Linked DNA regions of Homo sapiens: region 2 is linked to region 1. The links are contacts of gene promoters, found by promoter capture Hi-C in blood cells and fetal thymus (Javierre and others, 2016). All regions are on one chromosome and are shown on one strand. The core of a region is centred on a gene start or on the middle of the fragment in contact, and the rest is flanking DNA. Distances in the headings are between cores, read along the strand shown. Region 1 holds the start of EPHX1 (epoxide hydrolase 1). Region 2 overlaps SDE2 (spliceosome associated SDE2).

Region 1 (7,738 bases), core at 1,166-3,665:
GTATTAGGATACAAGAGGTTGCCATTTTAATGCAGTTTTTGAAAAACAACAGCTTTGGCCACACCTGGTGGCTCACGCCTGTAATCCCAGTACTTTGGGAGGCCAGGGCAGGCAAATCACTTGAGGTCAGGAGTTTGAGACCCACCTGGCCAACATGGTGAAACCCCATCTCTACTAAAAATACAAAAATTAGCTGGGTGTGGTGGCAAGTGCCTGTAATTCCAGCGGCTTGGGAGGCTGAGGCACGAGGATCACTTGAACCTGGGAGGCGGAGGTTGCAGTGAGCCGAGATTGTGCCATTGCGCTCCAACCTGGGCAACAGAGTGAGACTGTATCTCAAAAACAAACAAATAAATAAATAAAATAACAACTGTATTGAGACATAATTCACATACCCATAAAACTCACCCTTTAAGAGTGTAAAATTTCACGGGTTTTGGTATATTTACAGACTTGTAGTGATGTAACCATCACCAATATCTAATTTTAGAAGAGTTTTGATGCAGGGCAGCTGAGACCCCAGATTGGGTCTCAGCCCAGCAGGGTTTTTAGCTTTGTCCAGGAAAGAATTCAAGAGAGAGCCCGTGGTGTGAGACAGCAACTTTTATGGAGGTGGCGGTGTCCAGCAGCAGCAGAGGGGGCCTGCTCCTGCAGTGCAGGGCTGCCCCACAGGCAGTGTGCTGAGAGCAGCAGCTCTGGGCGATTCTGCAGTCATGTTGATACCCACTTTTAGTTACATGCAGATTAAGGGGCAGTTTATGCAGACATTTCTAGGAAAAGGGTAGTAACTTTTGGGTCCTCGGGTCATTGCCATGGAAGGGGGGTGATAACTCCAGGGGCGTGCCCTGGTAAACTGACATGGCACACTGATATGATGGGCATATCTTATGCTCATCTTCCACCCAGTCCCTGTTTTAGCTAGTCCTCAATTTGGTCCTCAATCTGGTGTCCAAGCCCCACCTCTGGCGTTAAGTCCTGACTCCTACCTGTTTCACCATCACTGCAGTTTTAAGAGTAACGAATTTGGGTCCCCTGGTGAAGTGGCCAGAGGCAGAGCTTCTGTGTGAACTATTTGGAGGGGAGGGGAAAGAACTCTCCCAGACTGCAGGTTCTGAAAGGAATACAGAGATGTCAGAGACTGCAGTTGCAAGAGAAAGCTTTTATAGGAGGGTGTAGAATTAAAGGACAAGAGGACTCTACATGTGGATGGAGGAGGGCACCCTGTCCGGCAGTACTGCAAGAGCAAAAGTTTGGAGGTGGGAGTGAGGTGAGTGCGTCTGCCGGCCAGAATTCTTGGGCCAGGGTGAGCAGAAAGGTTGGAGGCCAAGGGAAGGTGGGTGGTGGTGAACCTTATCCTGAAGTGTGCAAGGTGACAGTCAGAAGCTTAGAACTCCAGCCACGGGCCCTGCATGTGGCCTCCTAGCTGTAGTCTGTCCACCGAGATCGTGAGGATGCTGGTGGTTGAAAGAACTGCACCTCTGAGCAGGTGAAGAGAGAAGCTAAGGAGGGGTGATGGCAGAGGCGATGGGACAGGCTTTCTAACGATGAGGGGCTGGGGATCAACGCTCTCACGGAAGCTAAAAGAGCCCCAGCAACCACCCGCCTGGGCCCTGAGCTCTCTCCAAAGCGGGAGGGGATTCACTAAGAGGTTGCTCCCCTGGCATTGAACTCAGCATCCTATACTGGTCCTCACCATGAAGACCCCCAAGAGTGCTTCAGACCATTGCTTCTCACATTCTCTGTATAAAGACACTAATTTGTTTTTAGATTTCCAAGCATGTCACGGACCAATATGTTTGTTAAATATACTAAGAATGAATTGCTAGAAAGATGAAATTAAAAAGACATACACCGCCAGGTGCAGTGGCTCACGCCCATAATCTCACCACTTTGGGAGGCGGAGGTAGGTGCATCGCTTGAGCCCAGGAGTTCAAGATCAGCCTAGGCAACAAAGTGAGACCCCCGTATCTACAAAACTTAAAAAATTAGCCAGGTGTGGTGGCGCAGTCTGTAGTCCCAGCTATTCTGGAGGCCGAAGTGGGAGGATCGCTTGAGGCTGCAGTGAGCCGAGATCGCACCACTGCACTCCAGCCTGGGTGATAGAGTGAGACTCTGTCTCCAAAAAAAAAAAGGACATACATCATGCAAGTTTGGATTTTTGTTTTTAGATTCAACTGACGAAGTTACGGGATCAAACTGCTGTAGGAGCTGCCAAACGCTTCTCTCCATTTCTGGCCGCGGGGCCGCGGACCGCCCTTTAAGTAGCCCGTTTTATCCCTGGCAGAGGTGGAGCCTTAGGCAGGCCTAGAGACTTTCCCGGGTCCTCCAGGCCGGGGAACGCCCCGCTCGGAGGCCGGGCTTGGGCGGAGACTGCGCCGGGGCTGCTGAAAACTAGCCGAGGAGAGCCAGGGAGCCGGAGAGATCGCGCGCCTGCCGCCGCCGGAGCCTGCGAGCCGAGACCGTAAGCGCCCGGGGCCGGCCGGGCCCGCACTCCCCGGACGCAGACGCGGTTCGGGCTCCGCGCGGGCTCGGCCGCCGGGGTGGGCGGCGGGCCGGGGCGCCGAGGGGTCGGGGCTGCGGTCGGCCCGCAGGGGTGCAGAGGGACTTGTAGTTGGTCCGCCCCCAGCTCCTGCCCCGGCCAGGAGACTGCGCGTGCCGCCTACTGGGGGAAGGAGCCTGCAGGCGACCGCGGACTTCTCGCAGGGAATTCCGCGTCCCAGACTGTGGGCGGACGCCGCAGGGAGGGAGGCTCGCGACCCCGAGAGCGCACCGCGTCCCCTGGCCTGGGCGAGCTCTGCTTCCAGGGCCGTGGCTCGCTCGGCGGTGAAATGCACTTAATTTGTCACCCAAGTCGGAACACTGATTTTCATGCGCGTCCGTGTGAAGAGACCACCAAACAGGCTTTGTGTGAGCAACATGGCTGTTTATTTCACCTGGGTGCAGGCGGGCTGAGTCCGAAAAGAGTCAGCCAAGGGAGATAGGGGTGGGGCCGTTTTATAGGATTTGGGTAGGTAAAGGAAAATTACAGTCAAAGGGGGGTTCTCTGGCGGGCAGAGTGGGGGGGGTCACAAGGTGCTCAGTAGGGGAGCTTTTGAGCCAGGATGAGCCAGGAGAAGGAATTTCACAAGACAATGTCATCAGTTAAGGCAGGAACAGGTCATTTTCACTTTTGTGGTGGAATGACATCAGTTAAGGCAGGAACCGGCCATCTGGATGTGTAGGTGCAGGCCACAGGGGATATGATGGCTTAGCTTCGGCTCAGAGGCCTGACACTGATCACACCTTTTAGTTGAAATGCGCTTTCATCTCCATCTGCTGCCGCAGCCGCCGCCCGGCACCCCCTCGCTCTGGTCTCGGGATTGAAGGCCAGCCCTCTCCTCTTGTAGAACAGGAAACTTGCCCGGGAGTTCACCTTGTAGTTGAAGCCAGGGAATGTGGTCAACCTGAGCAAAAGCGCCGCGGAGACCGAGTGGCCGCCTGCCTCCCTCCCTGGCAGATGTCGGTTTTCTCTGAGCTTCTGGCTCCTTCCTTGCCCTGGCGGCTCCCGAGATCTTGGAGGTGGGGTGCCTAGCAATGTTGTAATCCTAATTTTGACTTTTTTTTCTTAAAGTTGAATGCCCCCTCCATAGCCCACCTCCCATTGTTTAAACTTCAGGTTCCGCAAAGCCTGGATCCGCCCCTACAGGCAACACTCGTTGTCCTGGAAGTTCTGTGAGGGCTCAGCTTGTGGCTGGAGGTGGGAGGTGAGGGGGACCCATGCACTTGGCAGGCCCGCTTCCAGGACAGCCCTTTGCTGGGATTGATGAGCTGTTGGTGGAAAATTGTTGAGGACCTTGGGGTTGGTGGCTGTTTCGGTACCACTGTGCAGCCTCCTCTGCATCCAGCATAATTTAAAATAAACATTTTCAGGAAGCCACACTTCTCCAGAAAGTAACATTGTTTTCTGGTGTAACGGTTGCCTCCTTCAGGGAGCTAGGTTTGGGGGATAATAGGGGGCCTTTCACTGGCCCCACTTGGTCTGACTTAGCAGCAAAAACTCTGCGAGTGCTCTCCAAGCAGTTTTTCTTTCCCAAATTTCCACACCTAGGAGGCGCTGAGGAGGCATGGGCGGTACTTAGGAACTGCTCACTGTGGAACTGAGGCACAGCGGGGAGCATGCCCTCGTGGGATTTGCAGTTCTAGGGGCAGAGGGATAATAAACAAAATACATTTGTAAACTATAAAGTATGTTAGAAGATGATGTGTAATATGGAGATAAATAAAACTTTAAAGAGGGGAGAGGAGTGCCAGGTGGAAAGGGAAGGCCTCACTGAAGGGTGGCACTGGCATAGACCTGAAGAGTTAGGGAGCAGCCAAGCTGCTGCCTGGGGTGCAGGTGCAAAGGCTGGGGGCAGGAGTGTGCCCAGCTTGAATGGCCTGATGTTTGTGTTTGCAGAGTGTGGGTCAAGCTGATGAGTGACCTACTGGATAAACTGAACTAGCTCAGTCTGTAAGTGAGGGGACTCCTGAGCTTTCTGCGGCCTTCTTCCCAATTCCAGGAAAGGAAGGACCTTCCACAGAAAATAACTACTCAGCAAGACAGCCAGGGTGAACCTCAGCACCATCTGTGACAAGCCACATGCTCTCTGCGTGATGCCTCCTGCCTCTCAGCTGTGCCTGAAGCACACTAGCTGGCATGGACTTACGCGGCTGGGAACATCTTCAGGAAGCCCTGAATGAGGGCTCTGTGGGCAGAGGGACCTTTGCAGAAAGGGCATCTTGACCACTGCAGGAGGTGGAGTGACTCTCCTGGGGTGTCCTGGTTCCTGCCTGATGTCTTAAGCATAACTGGCATTTTCAGGGAGCCCAGGTTCACCAATGCACAGTGCCCCTCCTGTCGACCTGATACCCAGGCTTGGTGATTGCTCACCTGGCACCTTGATTCCCGTTCTGGTATCTTGGCCCAGGCCCAGACATGTGAAAGCAGGGGCTACCGAGATTCATTTCTCAGTTCTTACGCCAAGAGGTTCAACCACATGGATCACAGCTGGGTGTACCAAATAAGGGAGGACCAAGCATGAGCTGGTCACCCCTGCTGAAGAAGTAGCTCGAAGCCCACCCACTCGGGGACAGAGTGGGCACAGATGGGATAGACAGATAGTGATTCGAGGGGTGCCTAGGATCTCATACTGAAAACCCACCTCTGCTAGGGCCATAAATCCCATCAACAGCAATTCATTCCTTTGAGAGGTAATACAGTGATGTGGGAAGAGGATTGGGCTGGAAAAAAGACTTGGCTCATGTCCCAGCTCTGCCATTAATGTGTCCCCTCTCTGGACCTCATCTGTAAAATGAGGTTAGGCTCAGCGATCTGCAGGCCTTCTTGCAGCTCTGCTATGTGATGATTCTGTGGCAAAGTCTGAAGGGATTTCAGGAAAGGAATGTGTAGGAGGGAAACAGTAAGTTTTGAAGGGACTCAGTGGGCCCTGTAGCCTCTGCTGGGTCCAGTGAAGACACTTCAACTAGAGTGAAGGCCCTGGCCACAGGGTAGGGGAGGCAAAATCTTAAGAGTTCAAGAGCCCTGAGTCAAGGCAGGAGGGTCACTGCCCAGCCCAGCTGGCCCCCTGGGCTGCCTGTGTGTGGTTCTTGACCCAGACCTAGTGGCTTAGGAGCAGAGTCTCCAAGGGGCTGTGGGATAAGGTGGGGATTGCAGGAGGGAGAAGGCACCCCAGCAGTTCCCCCGTTAGGGGACCAAAGCGTTGCCAAGGATCCAGCCACACCCCTCTCCTGAGGAGGGAGGAGCTGGTGGGCGCTCCAGGAAGAGCTTCCTCTCAACAAGGAGAAAACTGCGCAATCCAATCCTCCGTTATATAACTGAGCACACGATTGTGCAAACCAAGCTCACACTGAGCAGCCTCCCCTATTGTCAAGGTTTATTTACTTTCCCAGGGGAAGTCATAGTTCATCCTTTCTCAGCAGAAAGCAGCCATTTGACTGCCACAGCCTGACCTACGGCATTCCAGGAGATGGGTTCAGAGACCTGGTGTGGAGTCCTCATGCCCACCCGCCCTGCTGTCTGTGTCTTTCCGTCTGTTGCCTGGTGGGTGGGTGTGGTTTAGTGCATGGTCCAGCCCCCGCACAGCCACACCCATTAGGCTCTCCAAGGCCTAACTGAGCAAGCTTGCAGAAGAGGGGAAAGTGTTCTTTTCTCTGAGGAGTTAAAGAGACTTCTGGAAAATTCTCCAGCTACTCCACAAACTAGGATCACAGGCCTTGTTCTTAGGTCGGGAGCAGGAGTTTTTGCTGCCTTTAGCATTTGGGAAGTTTGATGAATAGAGACTGAATTTGAATGTCTTTTTGGTACTTAAGAGCTGGATTAACTACTTCACATATCTGAGCTTCATTTTTAATTCTTTTTAAAACAGAAAAAGTGGCTGGGCAAGATGGCGCACACCTGTAATCCCAGCATTTTGGGAAGCTGAGGTGGGTGGATCACTTGAGCCCAGGAGTTCTGAGACCAGCCTGGGCAACAAAGTGAGACCTCGTCTCTATAAAGAATAAATTAGCTGGGAGTGGTGGAGCACACCTGTAATCCCAGCACTTTAGGAAGCTGAGGCAGGAGGATCTCTTGAGCCCAAGAGTTCAAGACCACCCTGGGCAACATAGCGAGACCCTGTCTCAAATAATTTTTAAAAAGAAAAACTACCTCTTCTTAAGATGGTTGTAGTATGGGAGATGGTGTGTTTAAGTCTTCCCACCCCAGTGTCACAGCTCAGGGCTTCTCTAGCCTTCCTCACAGCGGTTGGGGGTGCCCAGACACATCCTGAAGTCTAGGCCGTGTTCTGAGTGTCTCTGCCACGGGCCCGCCTGGCTGGCTTTAGTCCAGGAGCAGCCTGGACTGTGACTCTTGAAGGCTGTGGGAGGCTGGTGACCGGGAGCAGGAGGTCTCAGTGCATCCCTGAAGGGTCAGAGAGCCATGCCGTGAGAGGCCAGGAGCAGGCAGCCATTGGCCCTCCAGCCCTCACCAAAGGCCACCACCTCAGCTTGTCCTCTGGCAACTCAGCCTGGGAATTTGCTTTCCCTGTGGAACGAGAGACACTGGCCGCATTGAGGGGTGACTTTCCGGTCCTACAAAATTGTAGCCCTCTTTCTGCTAGAACTGGTGAGACTTGGCTAATTTCGGAGAGACTTTAGGAAAGTAAGAGAAATACATTGGTCCCAGTGCCAAGCCCCAAGGCCATCTTTCCAGGTATGGGTATATCCTGCAGTGATAAGAGAAGACTGACTCTTACCAGCTCTTTGGGGGAAATGAATATACTTTCCCACGTTCCAGTTTTTCTGGCTGTGGCAGGACCTGTTTGCTGCCAAGTTGTTCCTGTGGGGAAACAGCAGTGGGCCCAGCAAATGTAGCCACCAGGTCGGGGCACAGCCACCAGGTGGAAGAAGCAACCCTGCCCTCTTCCGGTTCCATGTGTGCCTCACTGAGGCAGGACTTCCAGACCCTACCAGGAAGGCTGCTATCCGGGTCATAGTGATACCCTGTCAGGACATCGTTGTTTTTGTCTTGTTTTTTTTTGAGACAGGGTCTGGCTCTGTTGTCCAGGCTGGAGTGCAGTGGCGCCATCTCAGCTGTCTGCAAACTCCGCCCCACCAGGCTCAAGCCATCCTCAGCCTCCCAAGTAGCTGGGATTACAGGCGTGCACCACCATGCCCAGCTAATTTTCTTTTTTTTTTTTTTTTTTTTTTGTAGAGACAAGGT
Region 2 (7,699 bases), core at 554-3,053, 170 kb after region 1:
GGCAATTAGAAAACTCTATAGTCTTTTCATTTTGCCAGTCAAGGTCTATTTGCCTGCAGGGAGCAGGGCAACAGCTGCTCACACTCCCATGCTAAATAAAGCAGGGCCCAGCTAGTGCTCTGGCAACCTGAAGAGGATAACCAGGCCAATTAGGAAAGGGGCACTGGCCCAGCCAGCTTCATGCTGCCACAAAAGAAAGAAATTCTTTGGGCATGGCTGCCTGAGTCTCTCAAAGATGAACCCTGATCTTGTAAAGTAAACCTTCACTATGCTGGGCGCGGTGGCTCAGGCCTGTAATCCCTGCACTTTAGGAGGCCAAGGTGGGCGGATCCCCAGGTCAGGAAATCGAGACCATCCTGACTAATACAGTGAAACCCCGTCTCTACTAAAAATACAAAAAAATTAGCCGGGTGTGGTGGCACGTGCCTGTAGTCCCAGCTACTTGGGAGGCTGAGGCAGGATAATGGCGTGAACCCGGGAGGTGGAACTTGCAGTGAGCCAAGATGGCGCCACTGCACTCCAGCCTGGGCGACAGAGCAAGACTCCATCTAAAAATAAAATAAAATAAAAAAATTTTAAAAAGTAAACCTTCACTAAATCTAAATGTTTCCCTTCTCCCTTTGGGTGTGCTTTTTAAGATCTGAACAGGCACCCACATAATTTGAAGAAAACTGTTTCCAACTACCCAAGCTAGAAAAATAATCCTCCCTAAGCAACAGAACATACTGTGGCAGCCACGAAAATACGCCTCTCAGATCTCCTGCTGTGGGGAGCATCACTCAGTGATGCTCTGGGGCCACCGGGTTCACACTCAGGCCACACTTTCTGGGGACTCTTTATAGCCAACGTGCACAGTACAGGTACTAAGGCAGGCCCATTCTGGCAAGATGCCAACTCCTCCAAAAGGCAACTTTGGCTTGAAGACTCTCCATCAACTTAGCTATATTACAGAAATCATCTGAAGAACAGAGAGAAGCGTTTGGTGGAAAAAAAAAAAAAAAAAGACAGAGACTCGGAGACTGAGACCGAAGCTTAGTATATTTATAACTGAAGTCCCAGGAAAGAGAAAACATGGGTCAGGAAAAAGATCTGAGGAAATAATGGCTGACACTTTCCTATATTTGATTAAATGGCATAAATTTAGAGAGCCAAGAAATTCATCAAACTCCCAAGATAAATACATAGAAAACCACACCTGAAAGCTGCCAAAGAGAAAGACGCATTCTATAAAGGGAAAAACTATTTGAATACCCACTGATTTGTCATCAGAAACAATGAAGGCCAGAAGACAGTGGAACAAGATCTGTAAAGAGATTCTTTTTATTTTTTGAGACAGGGTCTCACTCTGTCACCCAGGCTGGGGTGCAGTGGCATGATCTTGGCTCATTGCAACCTCCGCCTCCTGGGTTCAAGCAATTCTCATGCCTAAGCCTCTCAAGTAGCTGGGATTACAGGCACGCACTGCCACACCTGGCTCATTTTTTTGTATTTTTAGTAGAGACAGCATTTCATCATGAAGGCCAGACTGGTCTTGAACTCCTGACCTCAAATGATCTGCCCGCCTCAGCCTCCCAAAGTGCTGGGATTACAGGCCTGAGCCACTGCACCTAGCGAAGAGATTCTTTTTAAAAAAGAGAAAACTGGCCAGGCACGGTGGTAATCCCAGCACTTTGGGAGGCCGAGGTGGGTGGTTCACAAGGTCAGGAGTTGAGACCAGCCTGACCAACATGGAGAAACCCCATCTCTACTAAAAATACAAAATGAGCCAGGTGTGGTGGCACATGTCTGTAATCCCAGTTACTTGGGAGGCTGAGGTAGGAGAATTGCTTGAACCCAGGAGATGGTGGATGCAGTGAGCCGAGATTGTGTCATTGCACTCCAGCCTGGGCAATGAGAGCGAAACTCCATCTCAAAAAAAAAAAAAAAAAGGGAAAAAGAAAAAGAAAACTAATTTGTTGCCAGGAGACACAAAAAATGCTATAGAAAGTTCTTCCGTCTTAAGGGAAAGGCTATTAGATCTTTAAGAAGAAATGAAGAATATTAGAAATGGTAAATATGTGAATAAATACAAAAGATTTTATTTTTTCCTCTTAATTTCTTTAAAATACATATCATTATTTAAAGCAGAAATTGTAACTTATGACAGGACTTACAATATTTAAATATGTAGATTTAATATGTATGACAACTACAGCATAAAAGACAGGTATGATAAATGGATGTACATACTTACAAGATTTCTACATTTTATGTGAAGTGGCACATCAACTCTAGGTAGACTGAAAAATTAAGAATGTATATTGTAATCACTAGAACATCCAACTTAAAAAAATTATTAAAACAGTATAGCTAAAGAGCCAATAAATTAAAATACAATTATAAAATAATCTTATCTAAACAGGAAACATGTAAATTAGAAACCTATTAATAATTACATTTAATGTTAAACTTATTAAAAGATACAGAGAGAACAGATAAAAATGCAAGTCTCAAGTATATGTTGTTTAAAGAAACTACTTTAAATAGGCACAGAAGCACAAAGTAAATTAATAGAAAGAGGTATACTGTGCAAACACTAAGCTTAAGAAGGCTGCAGTGGCTATATTCACATAAGATAAAGTAGATTTCAAACCCAAATTACCAGAGACAGAGGGAAATTTCATAATGATAAAATGGTCAATACATTAGGAAGACATAAGTTATTAGAGCTTCATACAAAAACTGGTAGAATTTAAGAAATAGACAATTCCACAATCATAATTGAAGATTTTAACATCCTTTCTCAGCACCTGATAGAAATAAACAAAAGGATCAGTAAAGACATAGAAGATCTGAACAATACTATCAACCACTTAATCTCATCGATATTACAAAACATATTAACCCAACAATTCAAATTACATATTGTTTTTCTTAGAGACATGGTCTCACTATACATTGCCCAGGCTGGTCTCGAAATGATCCTCCCACCTCAGCCTCTCAAATTACAGATTACAGCTGTAATCTCAGCATGTAATCTCATGCTGGATTACAGGCATGAGCCACCACACCTGGCCTAAAATACGCATTCTTTTAAACTGTGTATGGTACACTCACCATGACAGACAACATATTGGGTCATAAAACGAGTCTCAATAAAACTAAGAGGATTGAAATCATAAAGAGGATATTTTCTGACCTCAATGGAATTAAAGTAGAAATCAGCAACAAGAAGATATTAAGAGGAAAAAAAACAAATGTTTGCTGATCAGACAACCCACTTCTGATAATCCATGGGTCAAAGAAGAACTGAGGGAGGAAATTAGAAAATAATCAGAGGCTGGGCATGGTGGCTCACACCTGTAATCCCAGCACTTTGGGAGGCCAAAGTGGGTGGATCACCTGAGGTCAGGAGTTCGAGACCAGCCTGGCCAATGTGGTGAAACCCCATCTCTACTAAAAATACAAAAATCAGCCAGGTATGGTGGCTGGAGCCTGTAATCCCAGCTACTGAGGAGGCTGAGGCAGGAGAATCGCTTGAACCCAGGAGGCAGAGGTTGCAGTGAGCTGAGATCGTACCATTGCACTCTAGCCTGGGCAACAAAAGCGAAATTCCATCTCAAAAAGAAAAAAAAAAGAAAATTAGAACTGAATAATAAAAATACGACATAATAAAATTGTAAAGTCGCAACTAAAGTAATGCTTAAAAGAAAATGTATAGCTTTAAATATGTATTTTAAATAACGTCTAAGATCAATGACCTAAGGCTTATCTTAAGGAACTAAAGAAAAAAGATCAAAGGAGACTCAAGCTAAATAGAAGAAAGAAAATAACAGAAATTAATTATATAAACAATTGAGAAAAATAAAACCAAAGGTTGGTTCTTTAAAAGTTATATCGTCGGCCAGGCACGGTGGCTCACGCCTGTAATCCCAGCACTCTGGGAGGCTGAGGCGGGTGGACCACGAGGTAAAGAGATCGAGACCATCCTGGCTAACACAGTGAAACCCAGTCTCCACTAAAAATATAAAAAATTAGCCGGGCGTGGTGGTGGGAGCCTGTAGTCCCAGCTACTGGGGAGGCTGAGGCAGGAGAATGGCATGAACCCGGAAGGCAGAGCTTGCAGTAAGCCGAGATCGCGCCACTGCACTCCAGCCTGGGAGACAGTGTAAGACTGTCTCAAAAAAAATAAAATAAAATAAAAAGTCAGATCAGTAAAACTGATAAACCCCTACCCAACCTGATTAGGAAAGTGAGAACAGAAATTACCAGTATCATAATGAAAAGGAAATTATCAACACAGCTCCTAAAGACATTAAAAGGGTAAGAAGGGACCATTATAAATAACCTTATGTCTACAAATTTGATAACCTGGGTCAAAAGGATAGATTTCTTGGATAGATTCATTACCTAAATGACACCAAGATCAAACCAAAAAATGTGAATAGCCCTATATTTATTAAATACACTATAGAAAACCAGACAAAGAAAATTTAAGGCCCAGATGGTTTCAGACATTAATTCTACAGCCCTGACAAGGAAAAAGGGGATAGTTAGAATTGGGTTACTAAAAAGTTAGCTTTTAATATCAACAGGAATACTGGTCAAGAGTCCACATTATGCAGGTTGTAAATGGTAGACACTATAAACAAATAGGAATCAGCTCTGATGATACTCATTTTTTCTTCCCTTTCAAAGGCTTGGCAAATAAAGCCGGGTCAATTTGCTCCTTTGCCAGTCCTCTGACAGAGAAGAGTCTTGCTGCCCGCTCCTGCAGAGTGCCCCCACATTTCAGTCCAAGGGCCATCAGTTCACATTTGAGCTTCTCCAAACCCAGCAACTCCAGTTCTGCAACAGAGGTGAACGCCAATAAATCTATAGTTTCCTTATCAATAACCTGAGGGAAAAAAATAAGAAAATATTTAAAACAGGCTCCTTCCTCTGAATAAAGACTCTTTAACTGTCAACTACATTTCTTGAGAAATTTTCATTTAATTTGCCATACCTTGCAACTGAATTTTAATCATCATCCATCCACATGTTATTCCATAAGTATTCTCAACACACATAATAACTAATTTTTCATCTATACATTTAGAAACAAGCATTCAGAACAGTAACAGAAGTATAGCATTCCCAAACAGATTTTTAATATTGCTTTCTTTTCCGATTTTTCTAGTAAACATCTAAACAGTAAAATATAGCCAGCCTATCCCCACACTATTCCCACAGAAAGAGCAGGCACTCCTAAAAGCTTAATGAGAATCCCATGCCTCTGAATCTACTAATTCCATAATCTTAATGCTTTCTATTCTAATTGAGTAATTAAAACTAATTGTCAGACCTCTCCCTTATATAACTCAACAAACTCAAATGCTGTTCAATAGACTTGCAACTGTTCTACCCACCAAGTGCCTTTATAGACTTTAAGACAAAATTAGCCTGTAATCCCAGCCCTTTGGGAGGTGGAGGCAGGCGGAACACTTGAGATTAGGAGTCCGAAACCAGCTTGGTCAACATGGTGAAACCCCGTCTCTACTAAAAATACAAAAATTAGCCGGGTGTGGTGGTGCGTGCCTGTAGTCTCAGCGTGCCTGTAGTCTCAGCTACTTGGGAGACTGAGGCAGGAGAATCACTTGAACCTGGGAGGTAGAGCAGAAATCACACCACTGCACTCCAGCCTGAGCAACAGAGTGAGACTCTGTCATTAAAAAAAAAAAAAAGACAAAATTAAATACTGCTAATGATACCTTGAAAAGAATGAAAATGTCTATCTTTGAGTGATTTTTTATATTCAAAGAATAACTTTCACAGTTTTAAAATATTAAAGAGCTCTGGAGACATACTCTATCTTTCTAGTTGATCTTTGTTTTCTTAAAAAAGCTGTTTTGTTAGATTTCTGGGAGTTAACCTTGGCTTATTTATGACCAAATTCTAAAATGCCACTTATGTGTGTTTAAAGAATCACACTTGGTTGTTAGGAATACAACAGCTATTACTACAACATCAAGAACAAAACTCCATGGCTAACACTGAAAAATATCAGGTTTTATCCTATGATTCCTTTTTTATTTTTCTAAGACTTCAGTCAGGATAAAGCTCTTACCTGTATACACATAACACAAAAATTACATGCTTACAAATTCAGAGATTGTAAGGACCTTAGCATAAAAAAATTCCAATAGTCTCACCAGAAAGGGCAATTTATGCATTTTTACTTACTTACTGGGGGCAGGGGAAGGTGCTGGCTAAACAAATGGTAGGTTTTGTGTTTATCGAAGGAAATTAAGTAGTTTAGGTTTCACCTATTCTAAAAAGCAAACCATTAGATCAAAGCACAGAGATTTTTGCTGGAAGCCAGTCCATTGTAGATAGTGAAAAACCAACTTTTTGAGAGAATGTACTATGAAAATGCCTTTTTATTATTATTTTTTGAGATGGAGTCTCACTCTGTCGCCCAGGCTGGAGTACAGTGGTACAATCTCATCTCACTGCAACCTCCACCTCCCAGGGCACAAGCCATTCTCGTGGCTCAACCTCCTGAGTAGCTGGGATTACAGGCGTGCACCACCATGCCCGGCTAATTTTTGTTGTTGTTGTATTTTTAATAGAGACAGGGTTTCACCATGCTGGCCAGGCTGGTGTCAAGCTCCTGACCTCAGGTGATCTGCCCACCTCAGCTTCCCAAAGTGCTGGGATTACAGGCGTGAGCCACCGCACCTGGCTGAAGATGCCTTTTTTAAAAGGCTGACTGTGGGTACTTAAGATTTAATGATAAATTTAAAAGGAGGTTCCTCTTCTATAGAAGAGGTCTTCACATTCAGCTGAAACTATTGTTCAAGCTATCCTCACATTAGAAAAAGCTGAGTAGCAATTTAGTGACGGGAAAAATGAGCACATTTCATCAAATCTAAAATGCCATCTATCATAATATACCCTCATTCATGTATTACTAAGAATAAACAATACCAATTAAGTTATAATATGTTATACACATCTCATTTTAGACATGCTAAAATGTGGAAAACATGCATCTTACAATTGATGCAATATGGAATCAAGGACACCACCTAGTGGCAACATAGTATAAATGCCAGAACTTAAAAAGTTTTTGGGGAATAAGGCAAGCTTCACCATAATCTGTACTTCTTAAAATCAAATAAGCCTTTCACTAAGCAGCTGAGGGGCAAAAGCACATTTTCATTTTAATGACTTATTGTGGAGATTAAACTGATTTGGCTCTAGGTATCAACCCCAAAACATACTTACTGCGTTTCCTGGCTGGCTTTCCTGCAGTTTGGCAACGGCAACGTTTTCCCTTTCTTCAGGTGCTACCTCAGCAACTCTTTCCCCATCAGTCCTTTCTTCTGTCTCTTTATCCTTATTCAGTCCAGCCCCAGTGGGCTCCTCTTCTATGGGTTCTTTACTCTCTGCCTTCTTCTCCTGGGTCTCTTCTGTTTCTGTAACCATCCTGCTTTCCATGTGCTCTTTGGACTCCCCCAGCTCAGCACATGAGTCTTCTAAAATATGCCTCCCAGAGTCAGTCACCGGGATCTGCAGTTGTTCTGGTGATCCATGGTCTGTATTCACTACTCTCGCCCTCTGAGAACCACTGGGAAATTTGGCTGCCATCTCGACACCATTGCTACCAATTTTTGGAGCATGGAAACCCATTCCTGAAGTGCTTGGTGCTTCTTCACTGTCATCATCTGAACTCTCA

The links. Contacts are between HindIII fragments. The CHiCAGO score rates a contact against its expected background, and 5 or more counts as called.
Region 2: a fragment that was not itself captured here is called in contact with the fragment with the promoter of EPHX1 in region 1 in 1 of 17 cell types (erythroblasts); the score reaches 5.1 in erythroblasts.

Annotation. Positions count from the first base shown.
Region 1 is chr1:225,807,709-225,815,446 of GRCh38, forward strand. EPHX1 (epoxide hydrolase 1) reads left to right here and starts at 2,416. Exons shown (of 9, transcript NM_001136018.4): 1 at 2,416-2,461. RefSeq lists a silencer at 2,374-2,593. The HindIII fragment of the contact is 4,776 bases long and covers 1,382-6,157 here.
Region 2 is chr1:225,980,648-225,988,346 of GRCh38, forward strand. SDE2 (spliceosome associated SDE2) reads right to left here. Exons shown (of 7, transcript NM_152608.4): 6 at 7,249-7,699; 7 at 2,055-4,876. The coding sequence ends at 4,655. Among named protein-coding and RNA genes, the nearest start is that of SDE2, 15 kb to the right of the region's middle. The HindIII fragment of the contact is 1,549 bases long and covers 1,030-2,578 here.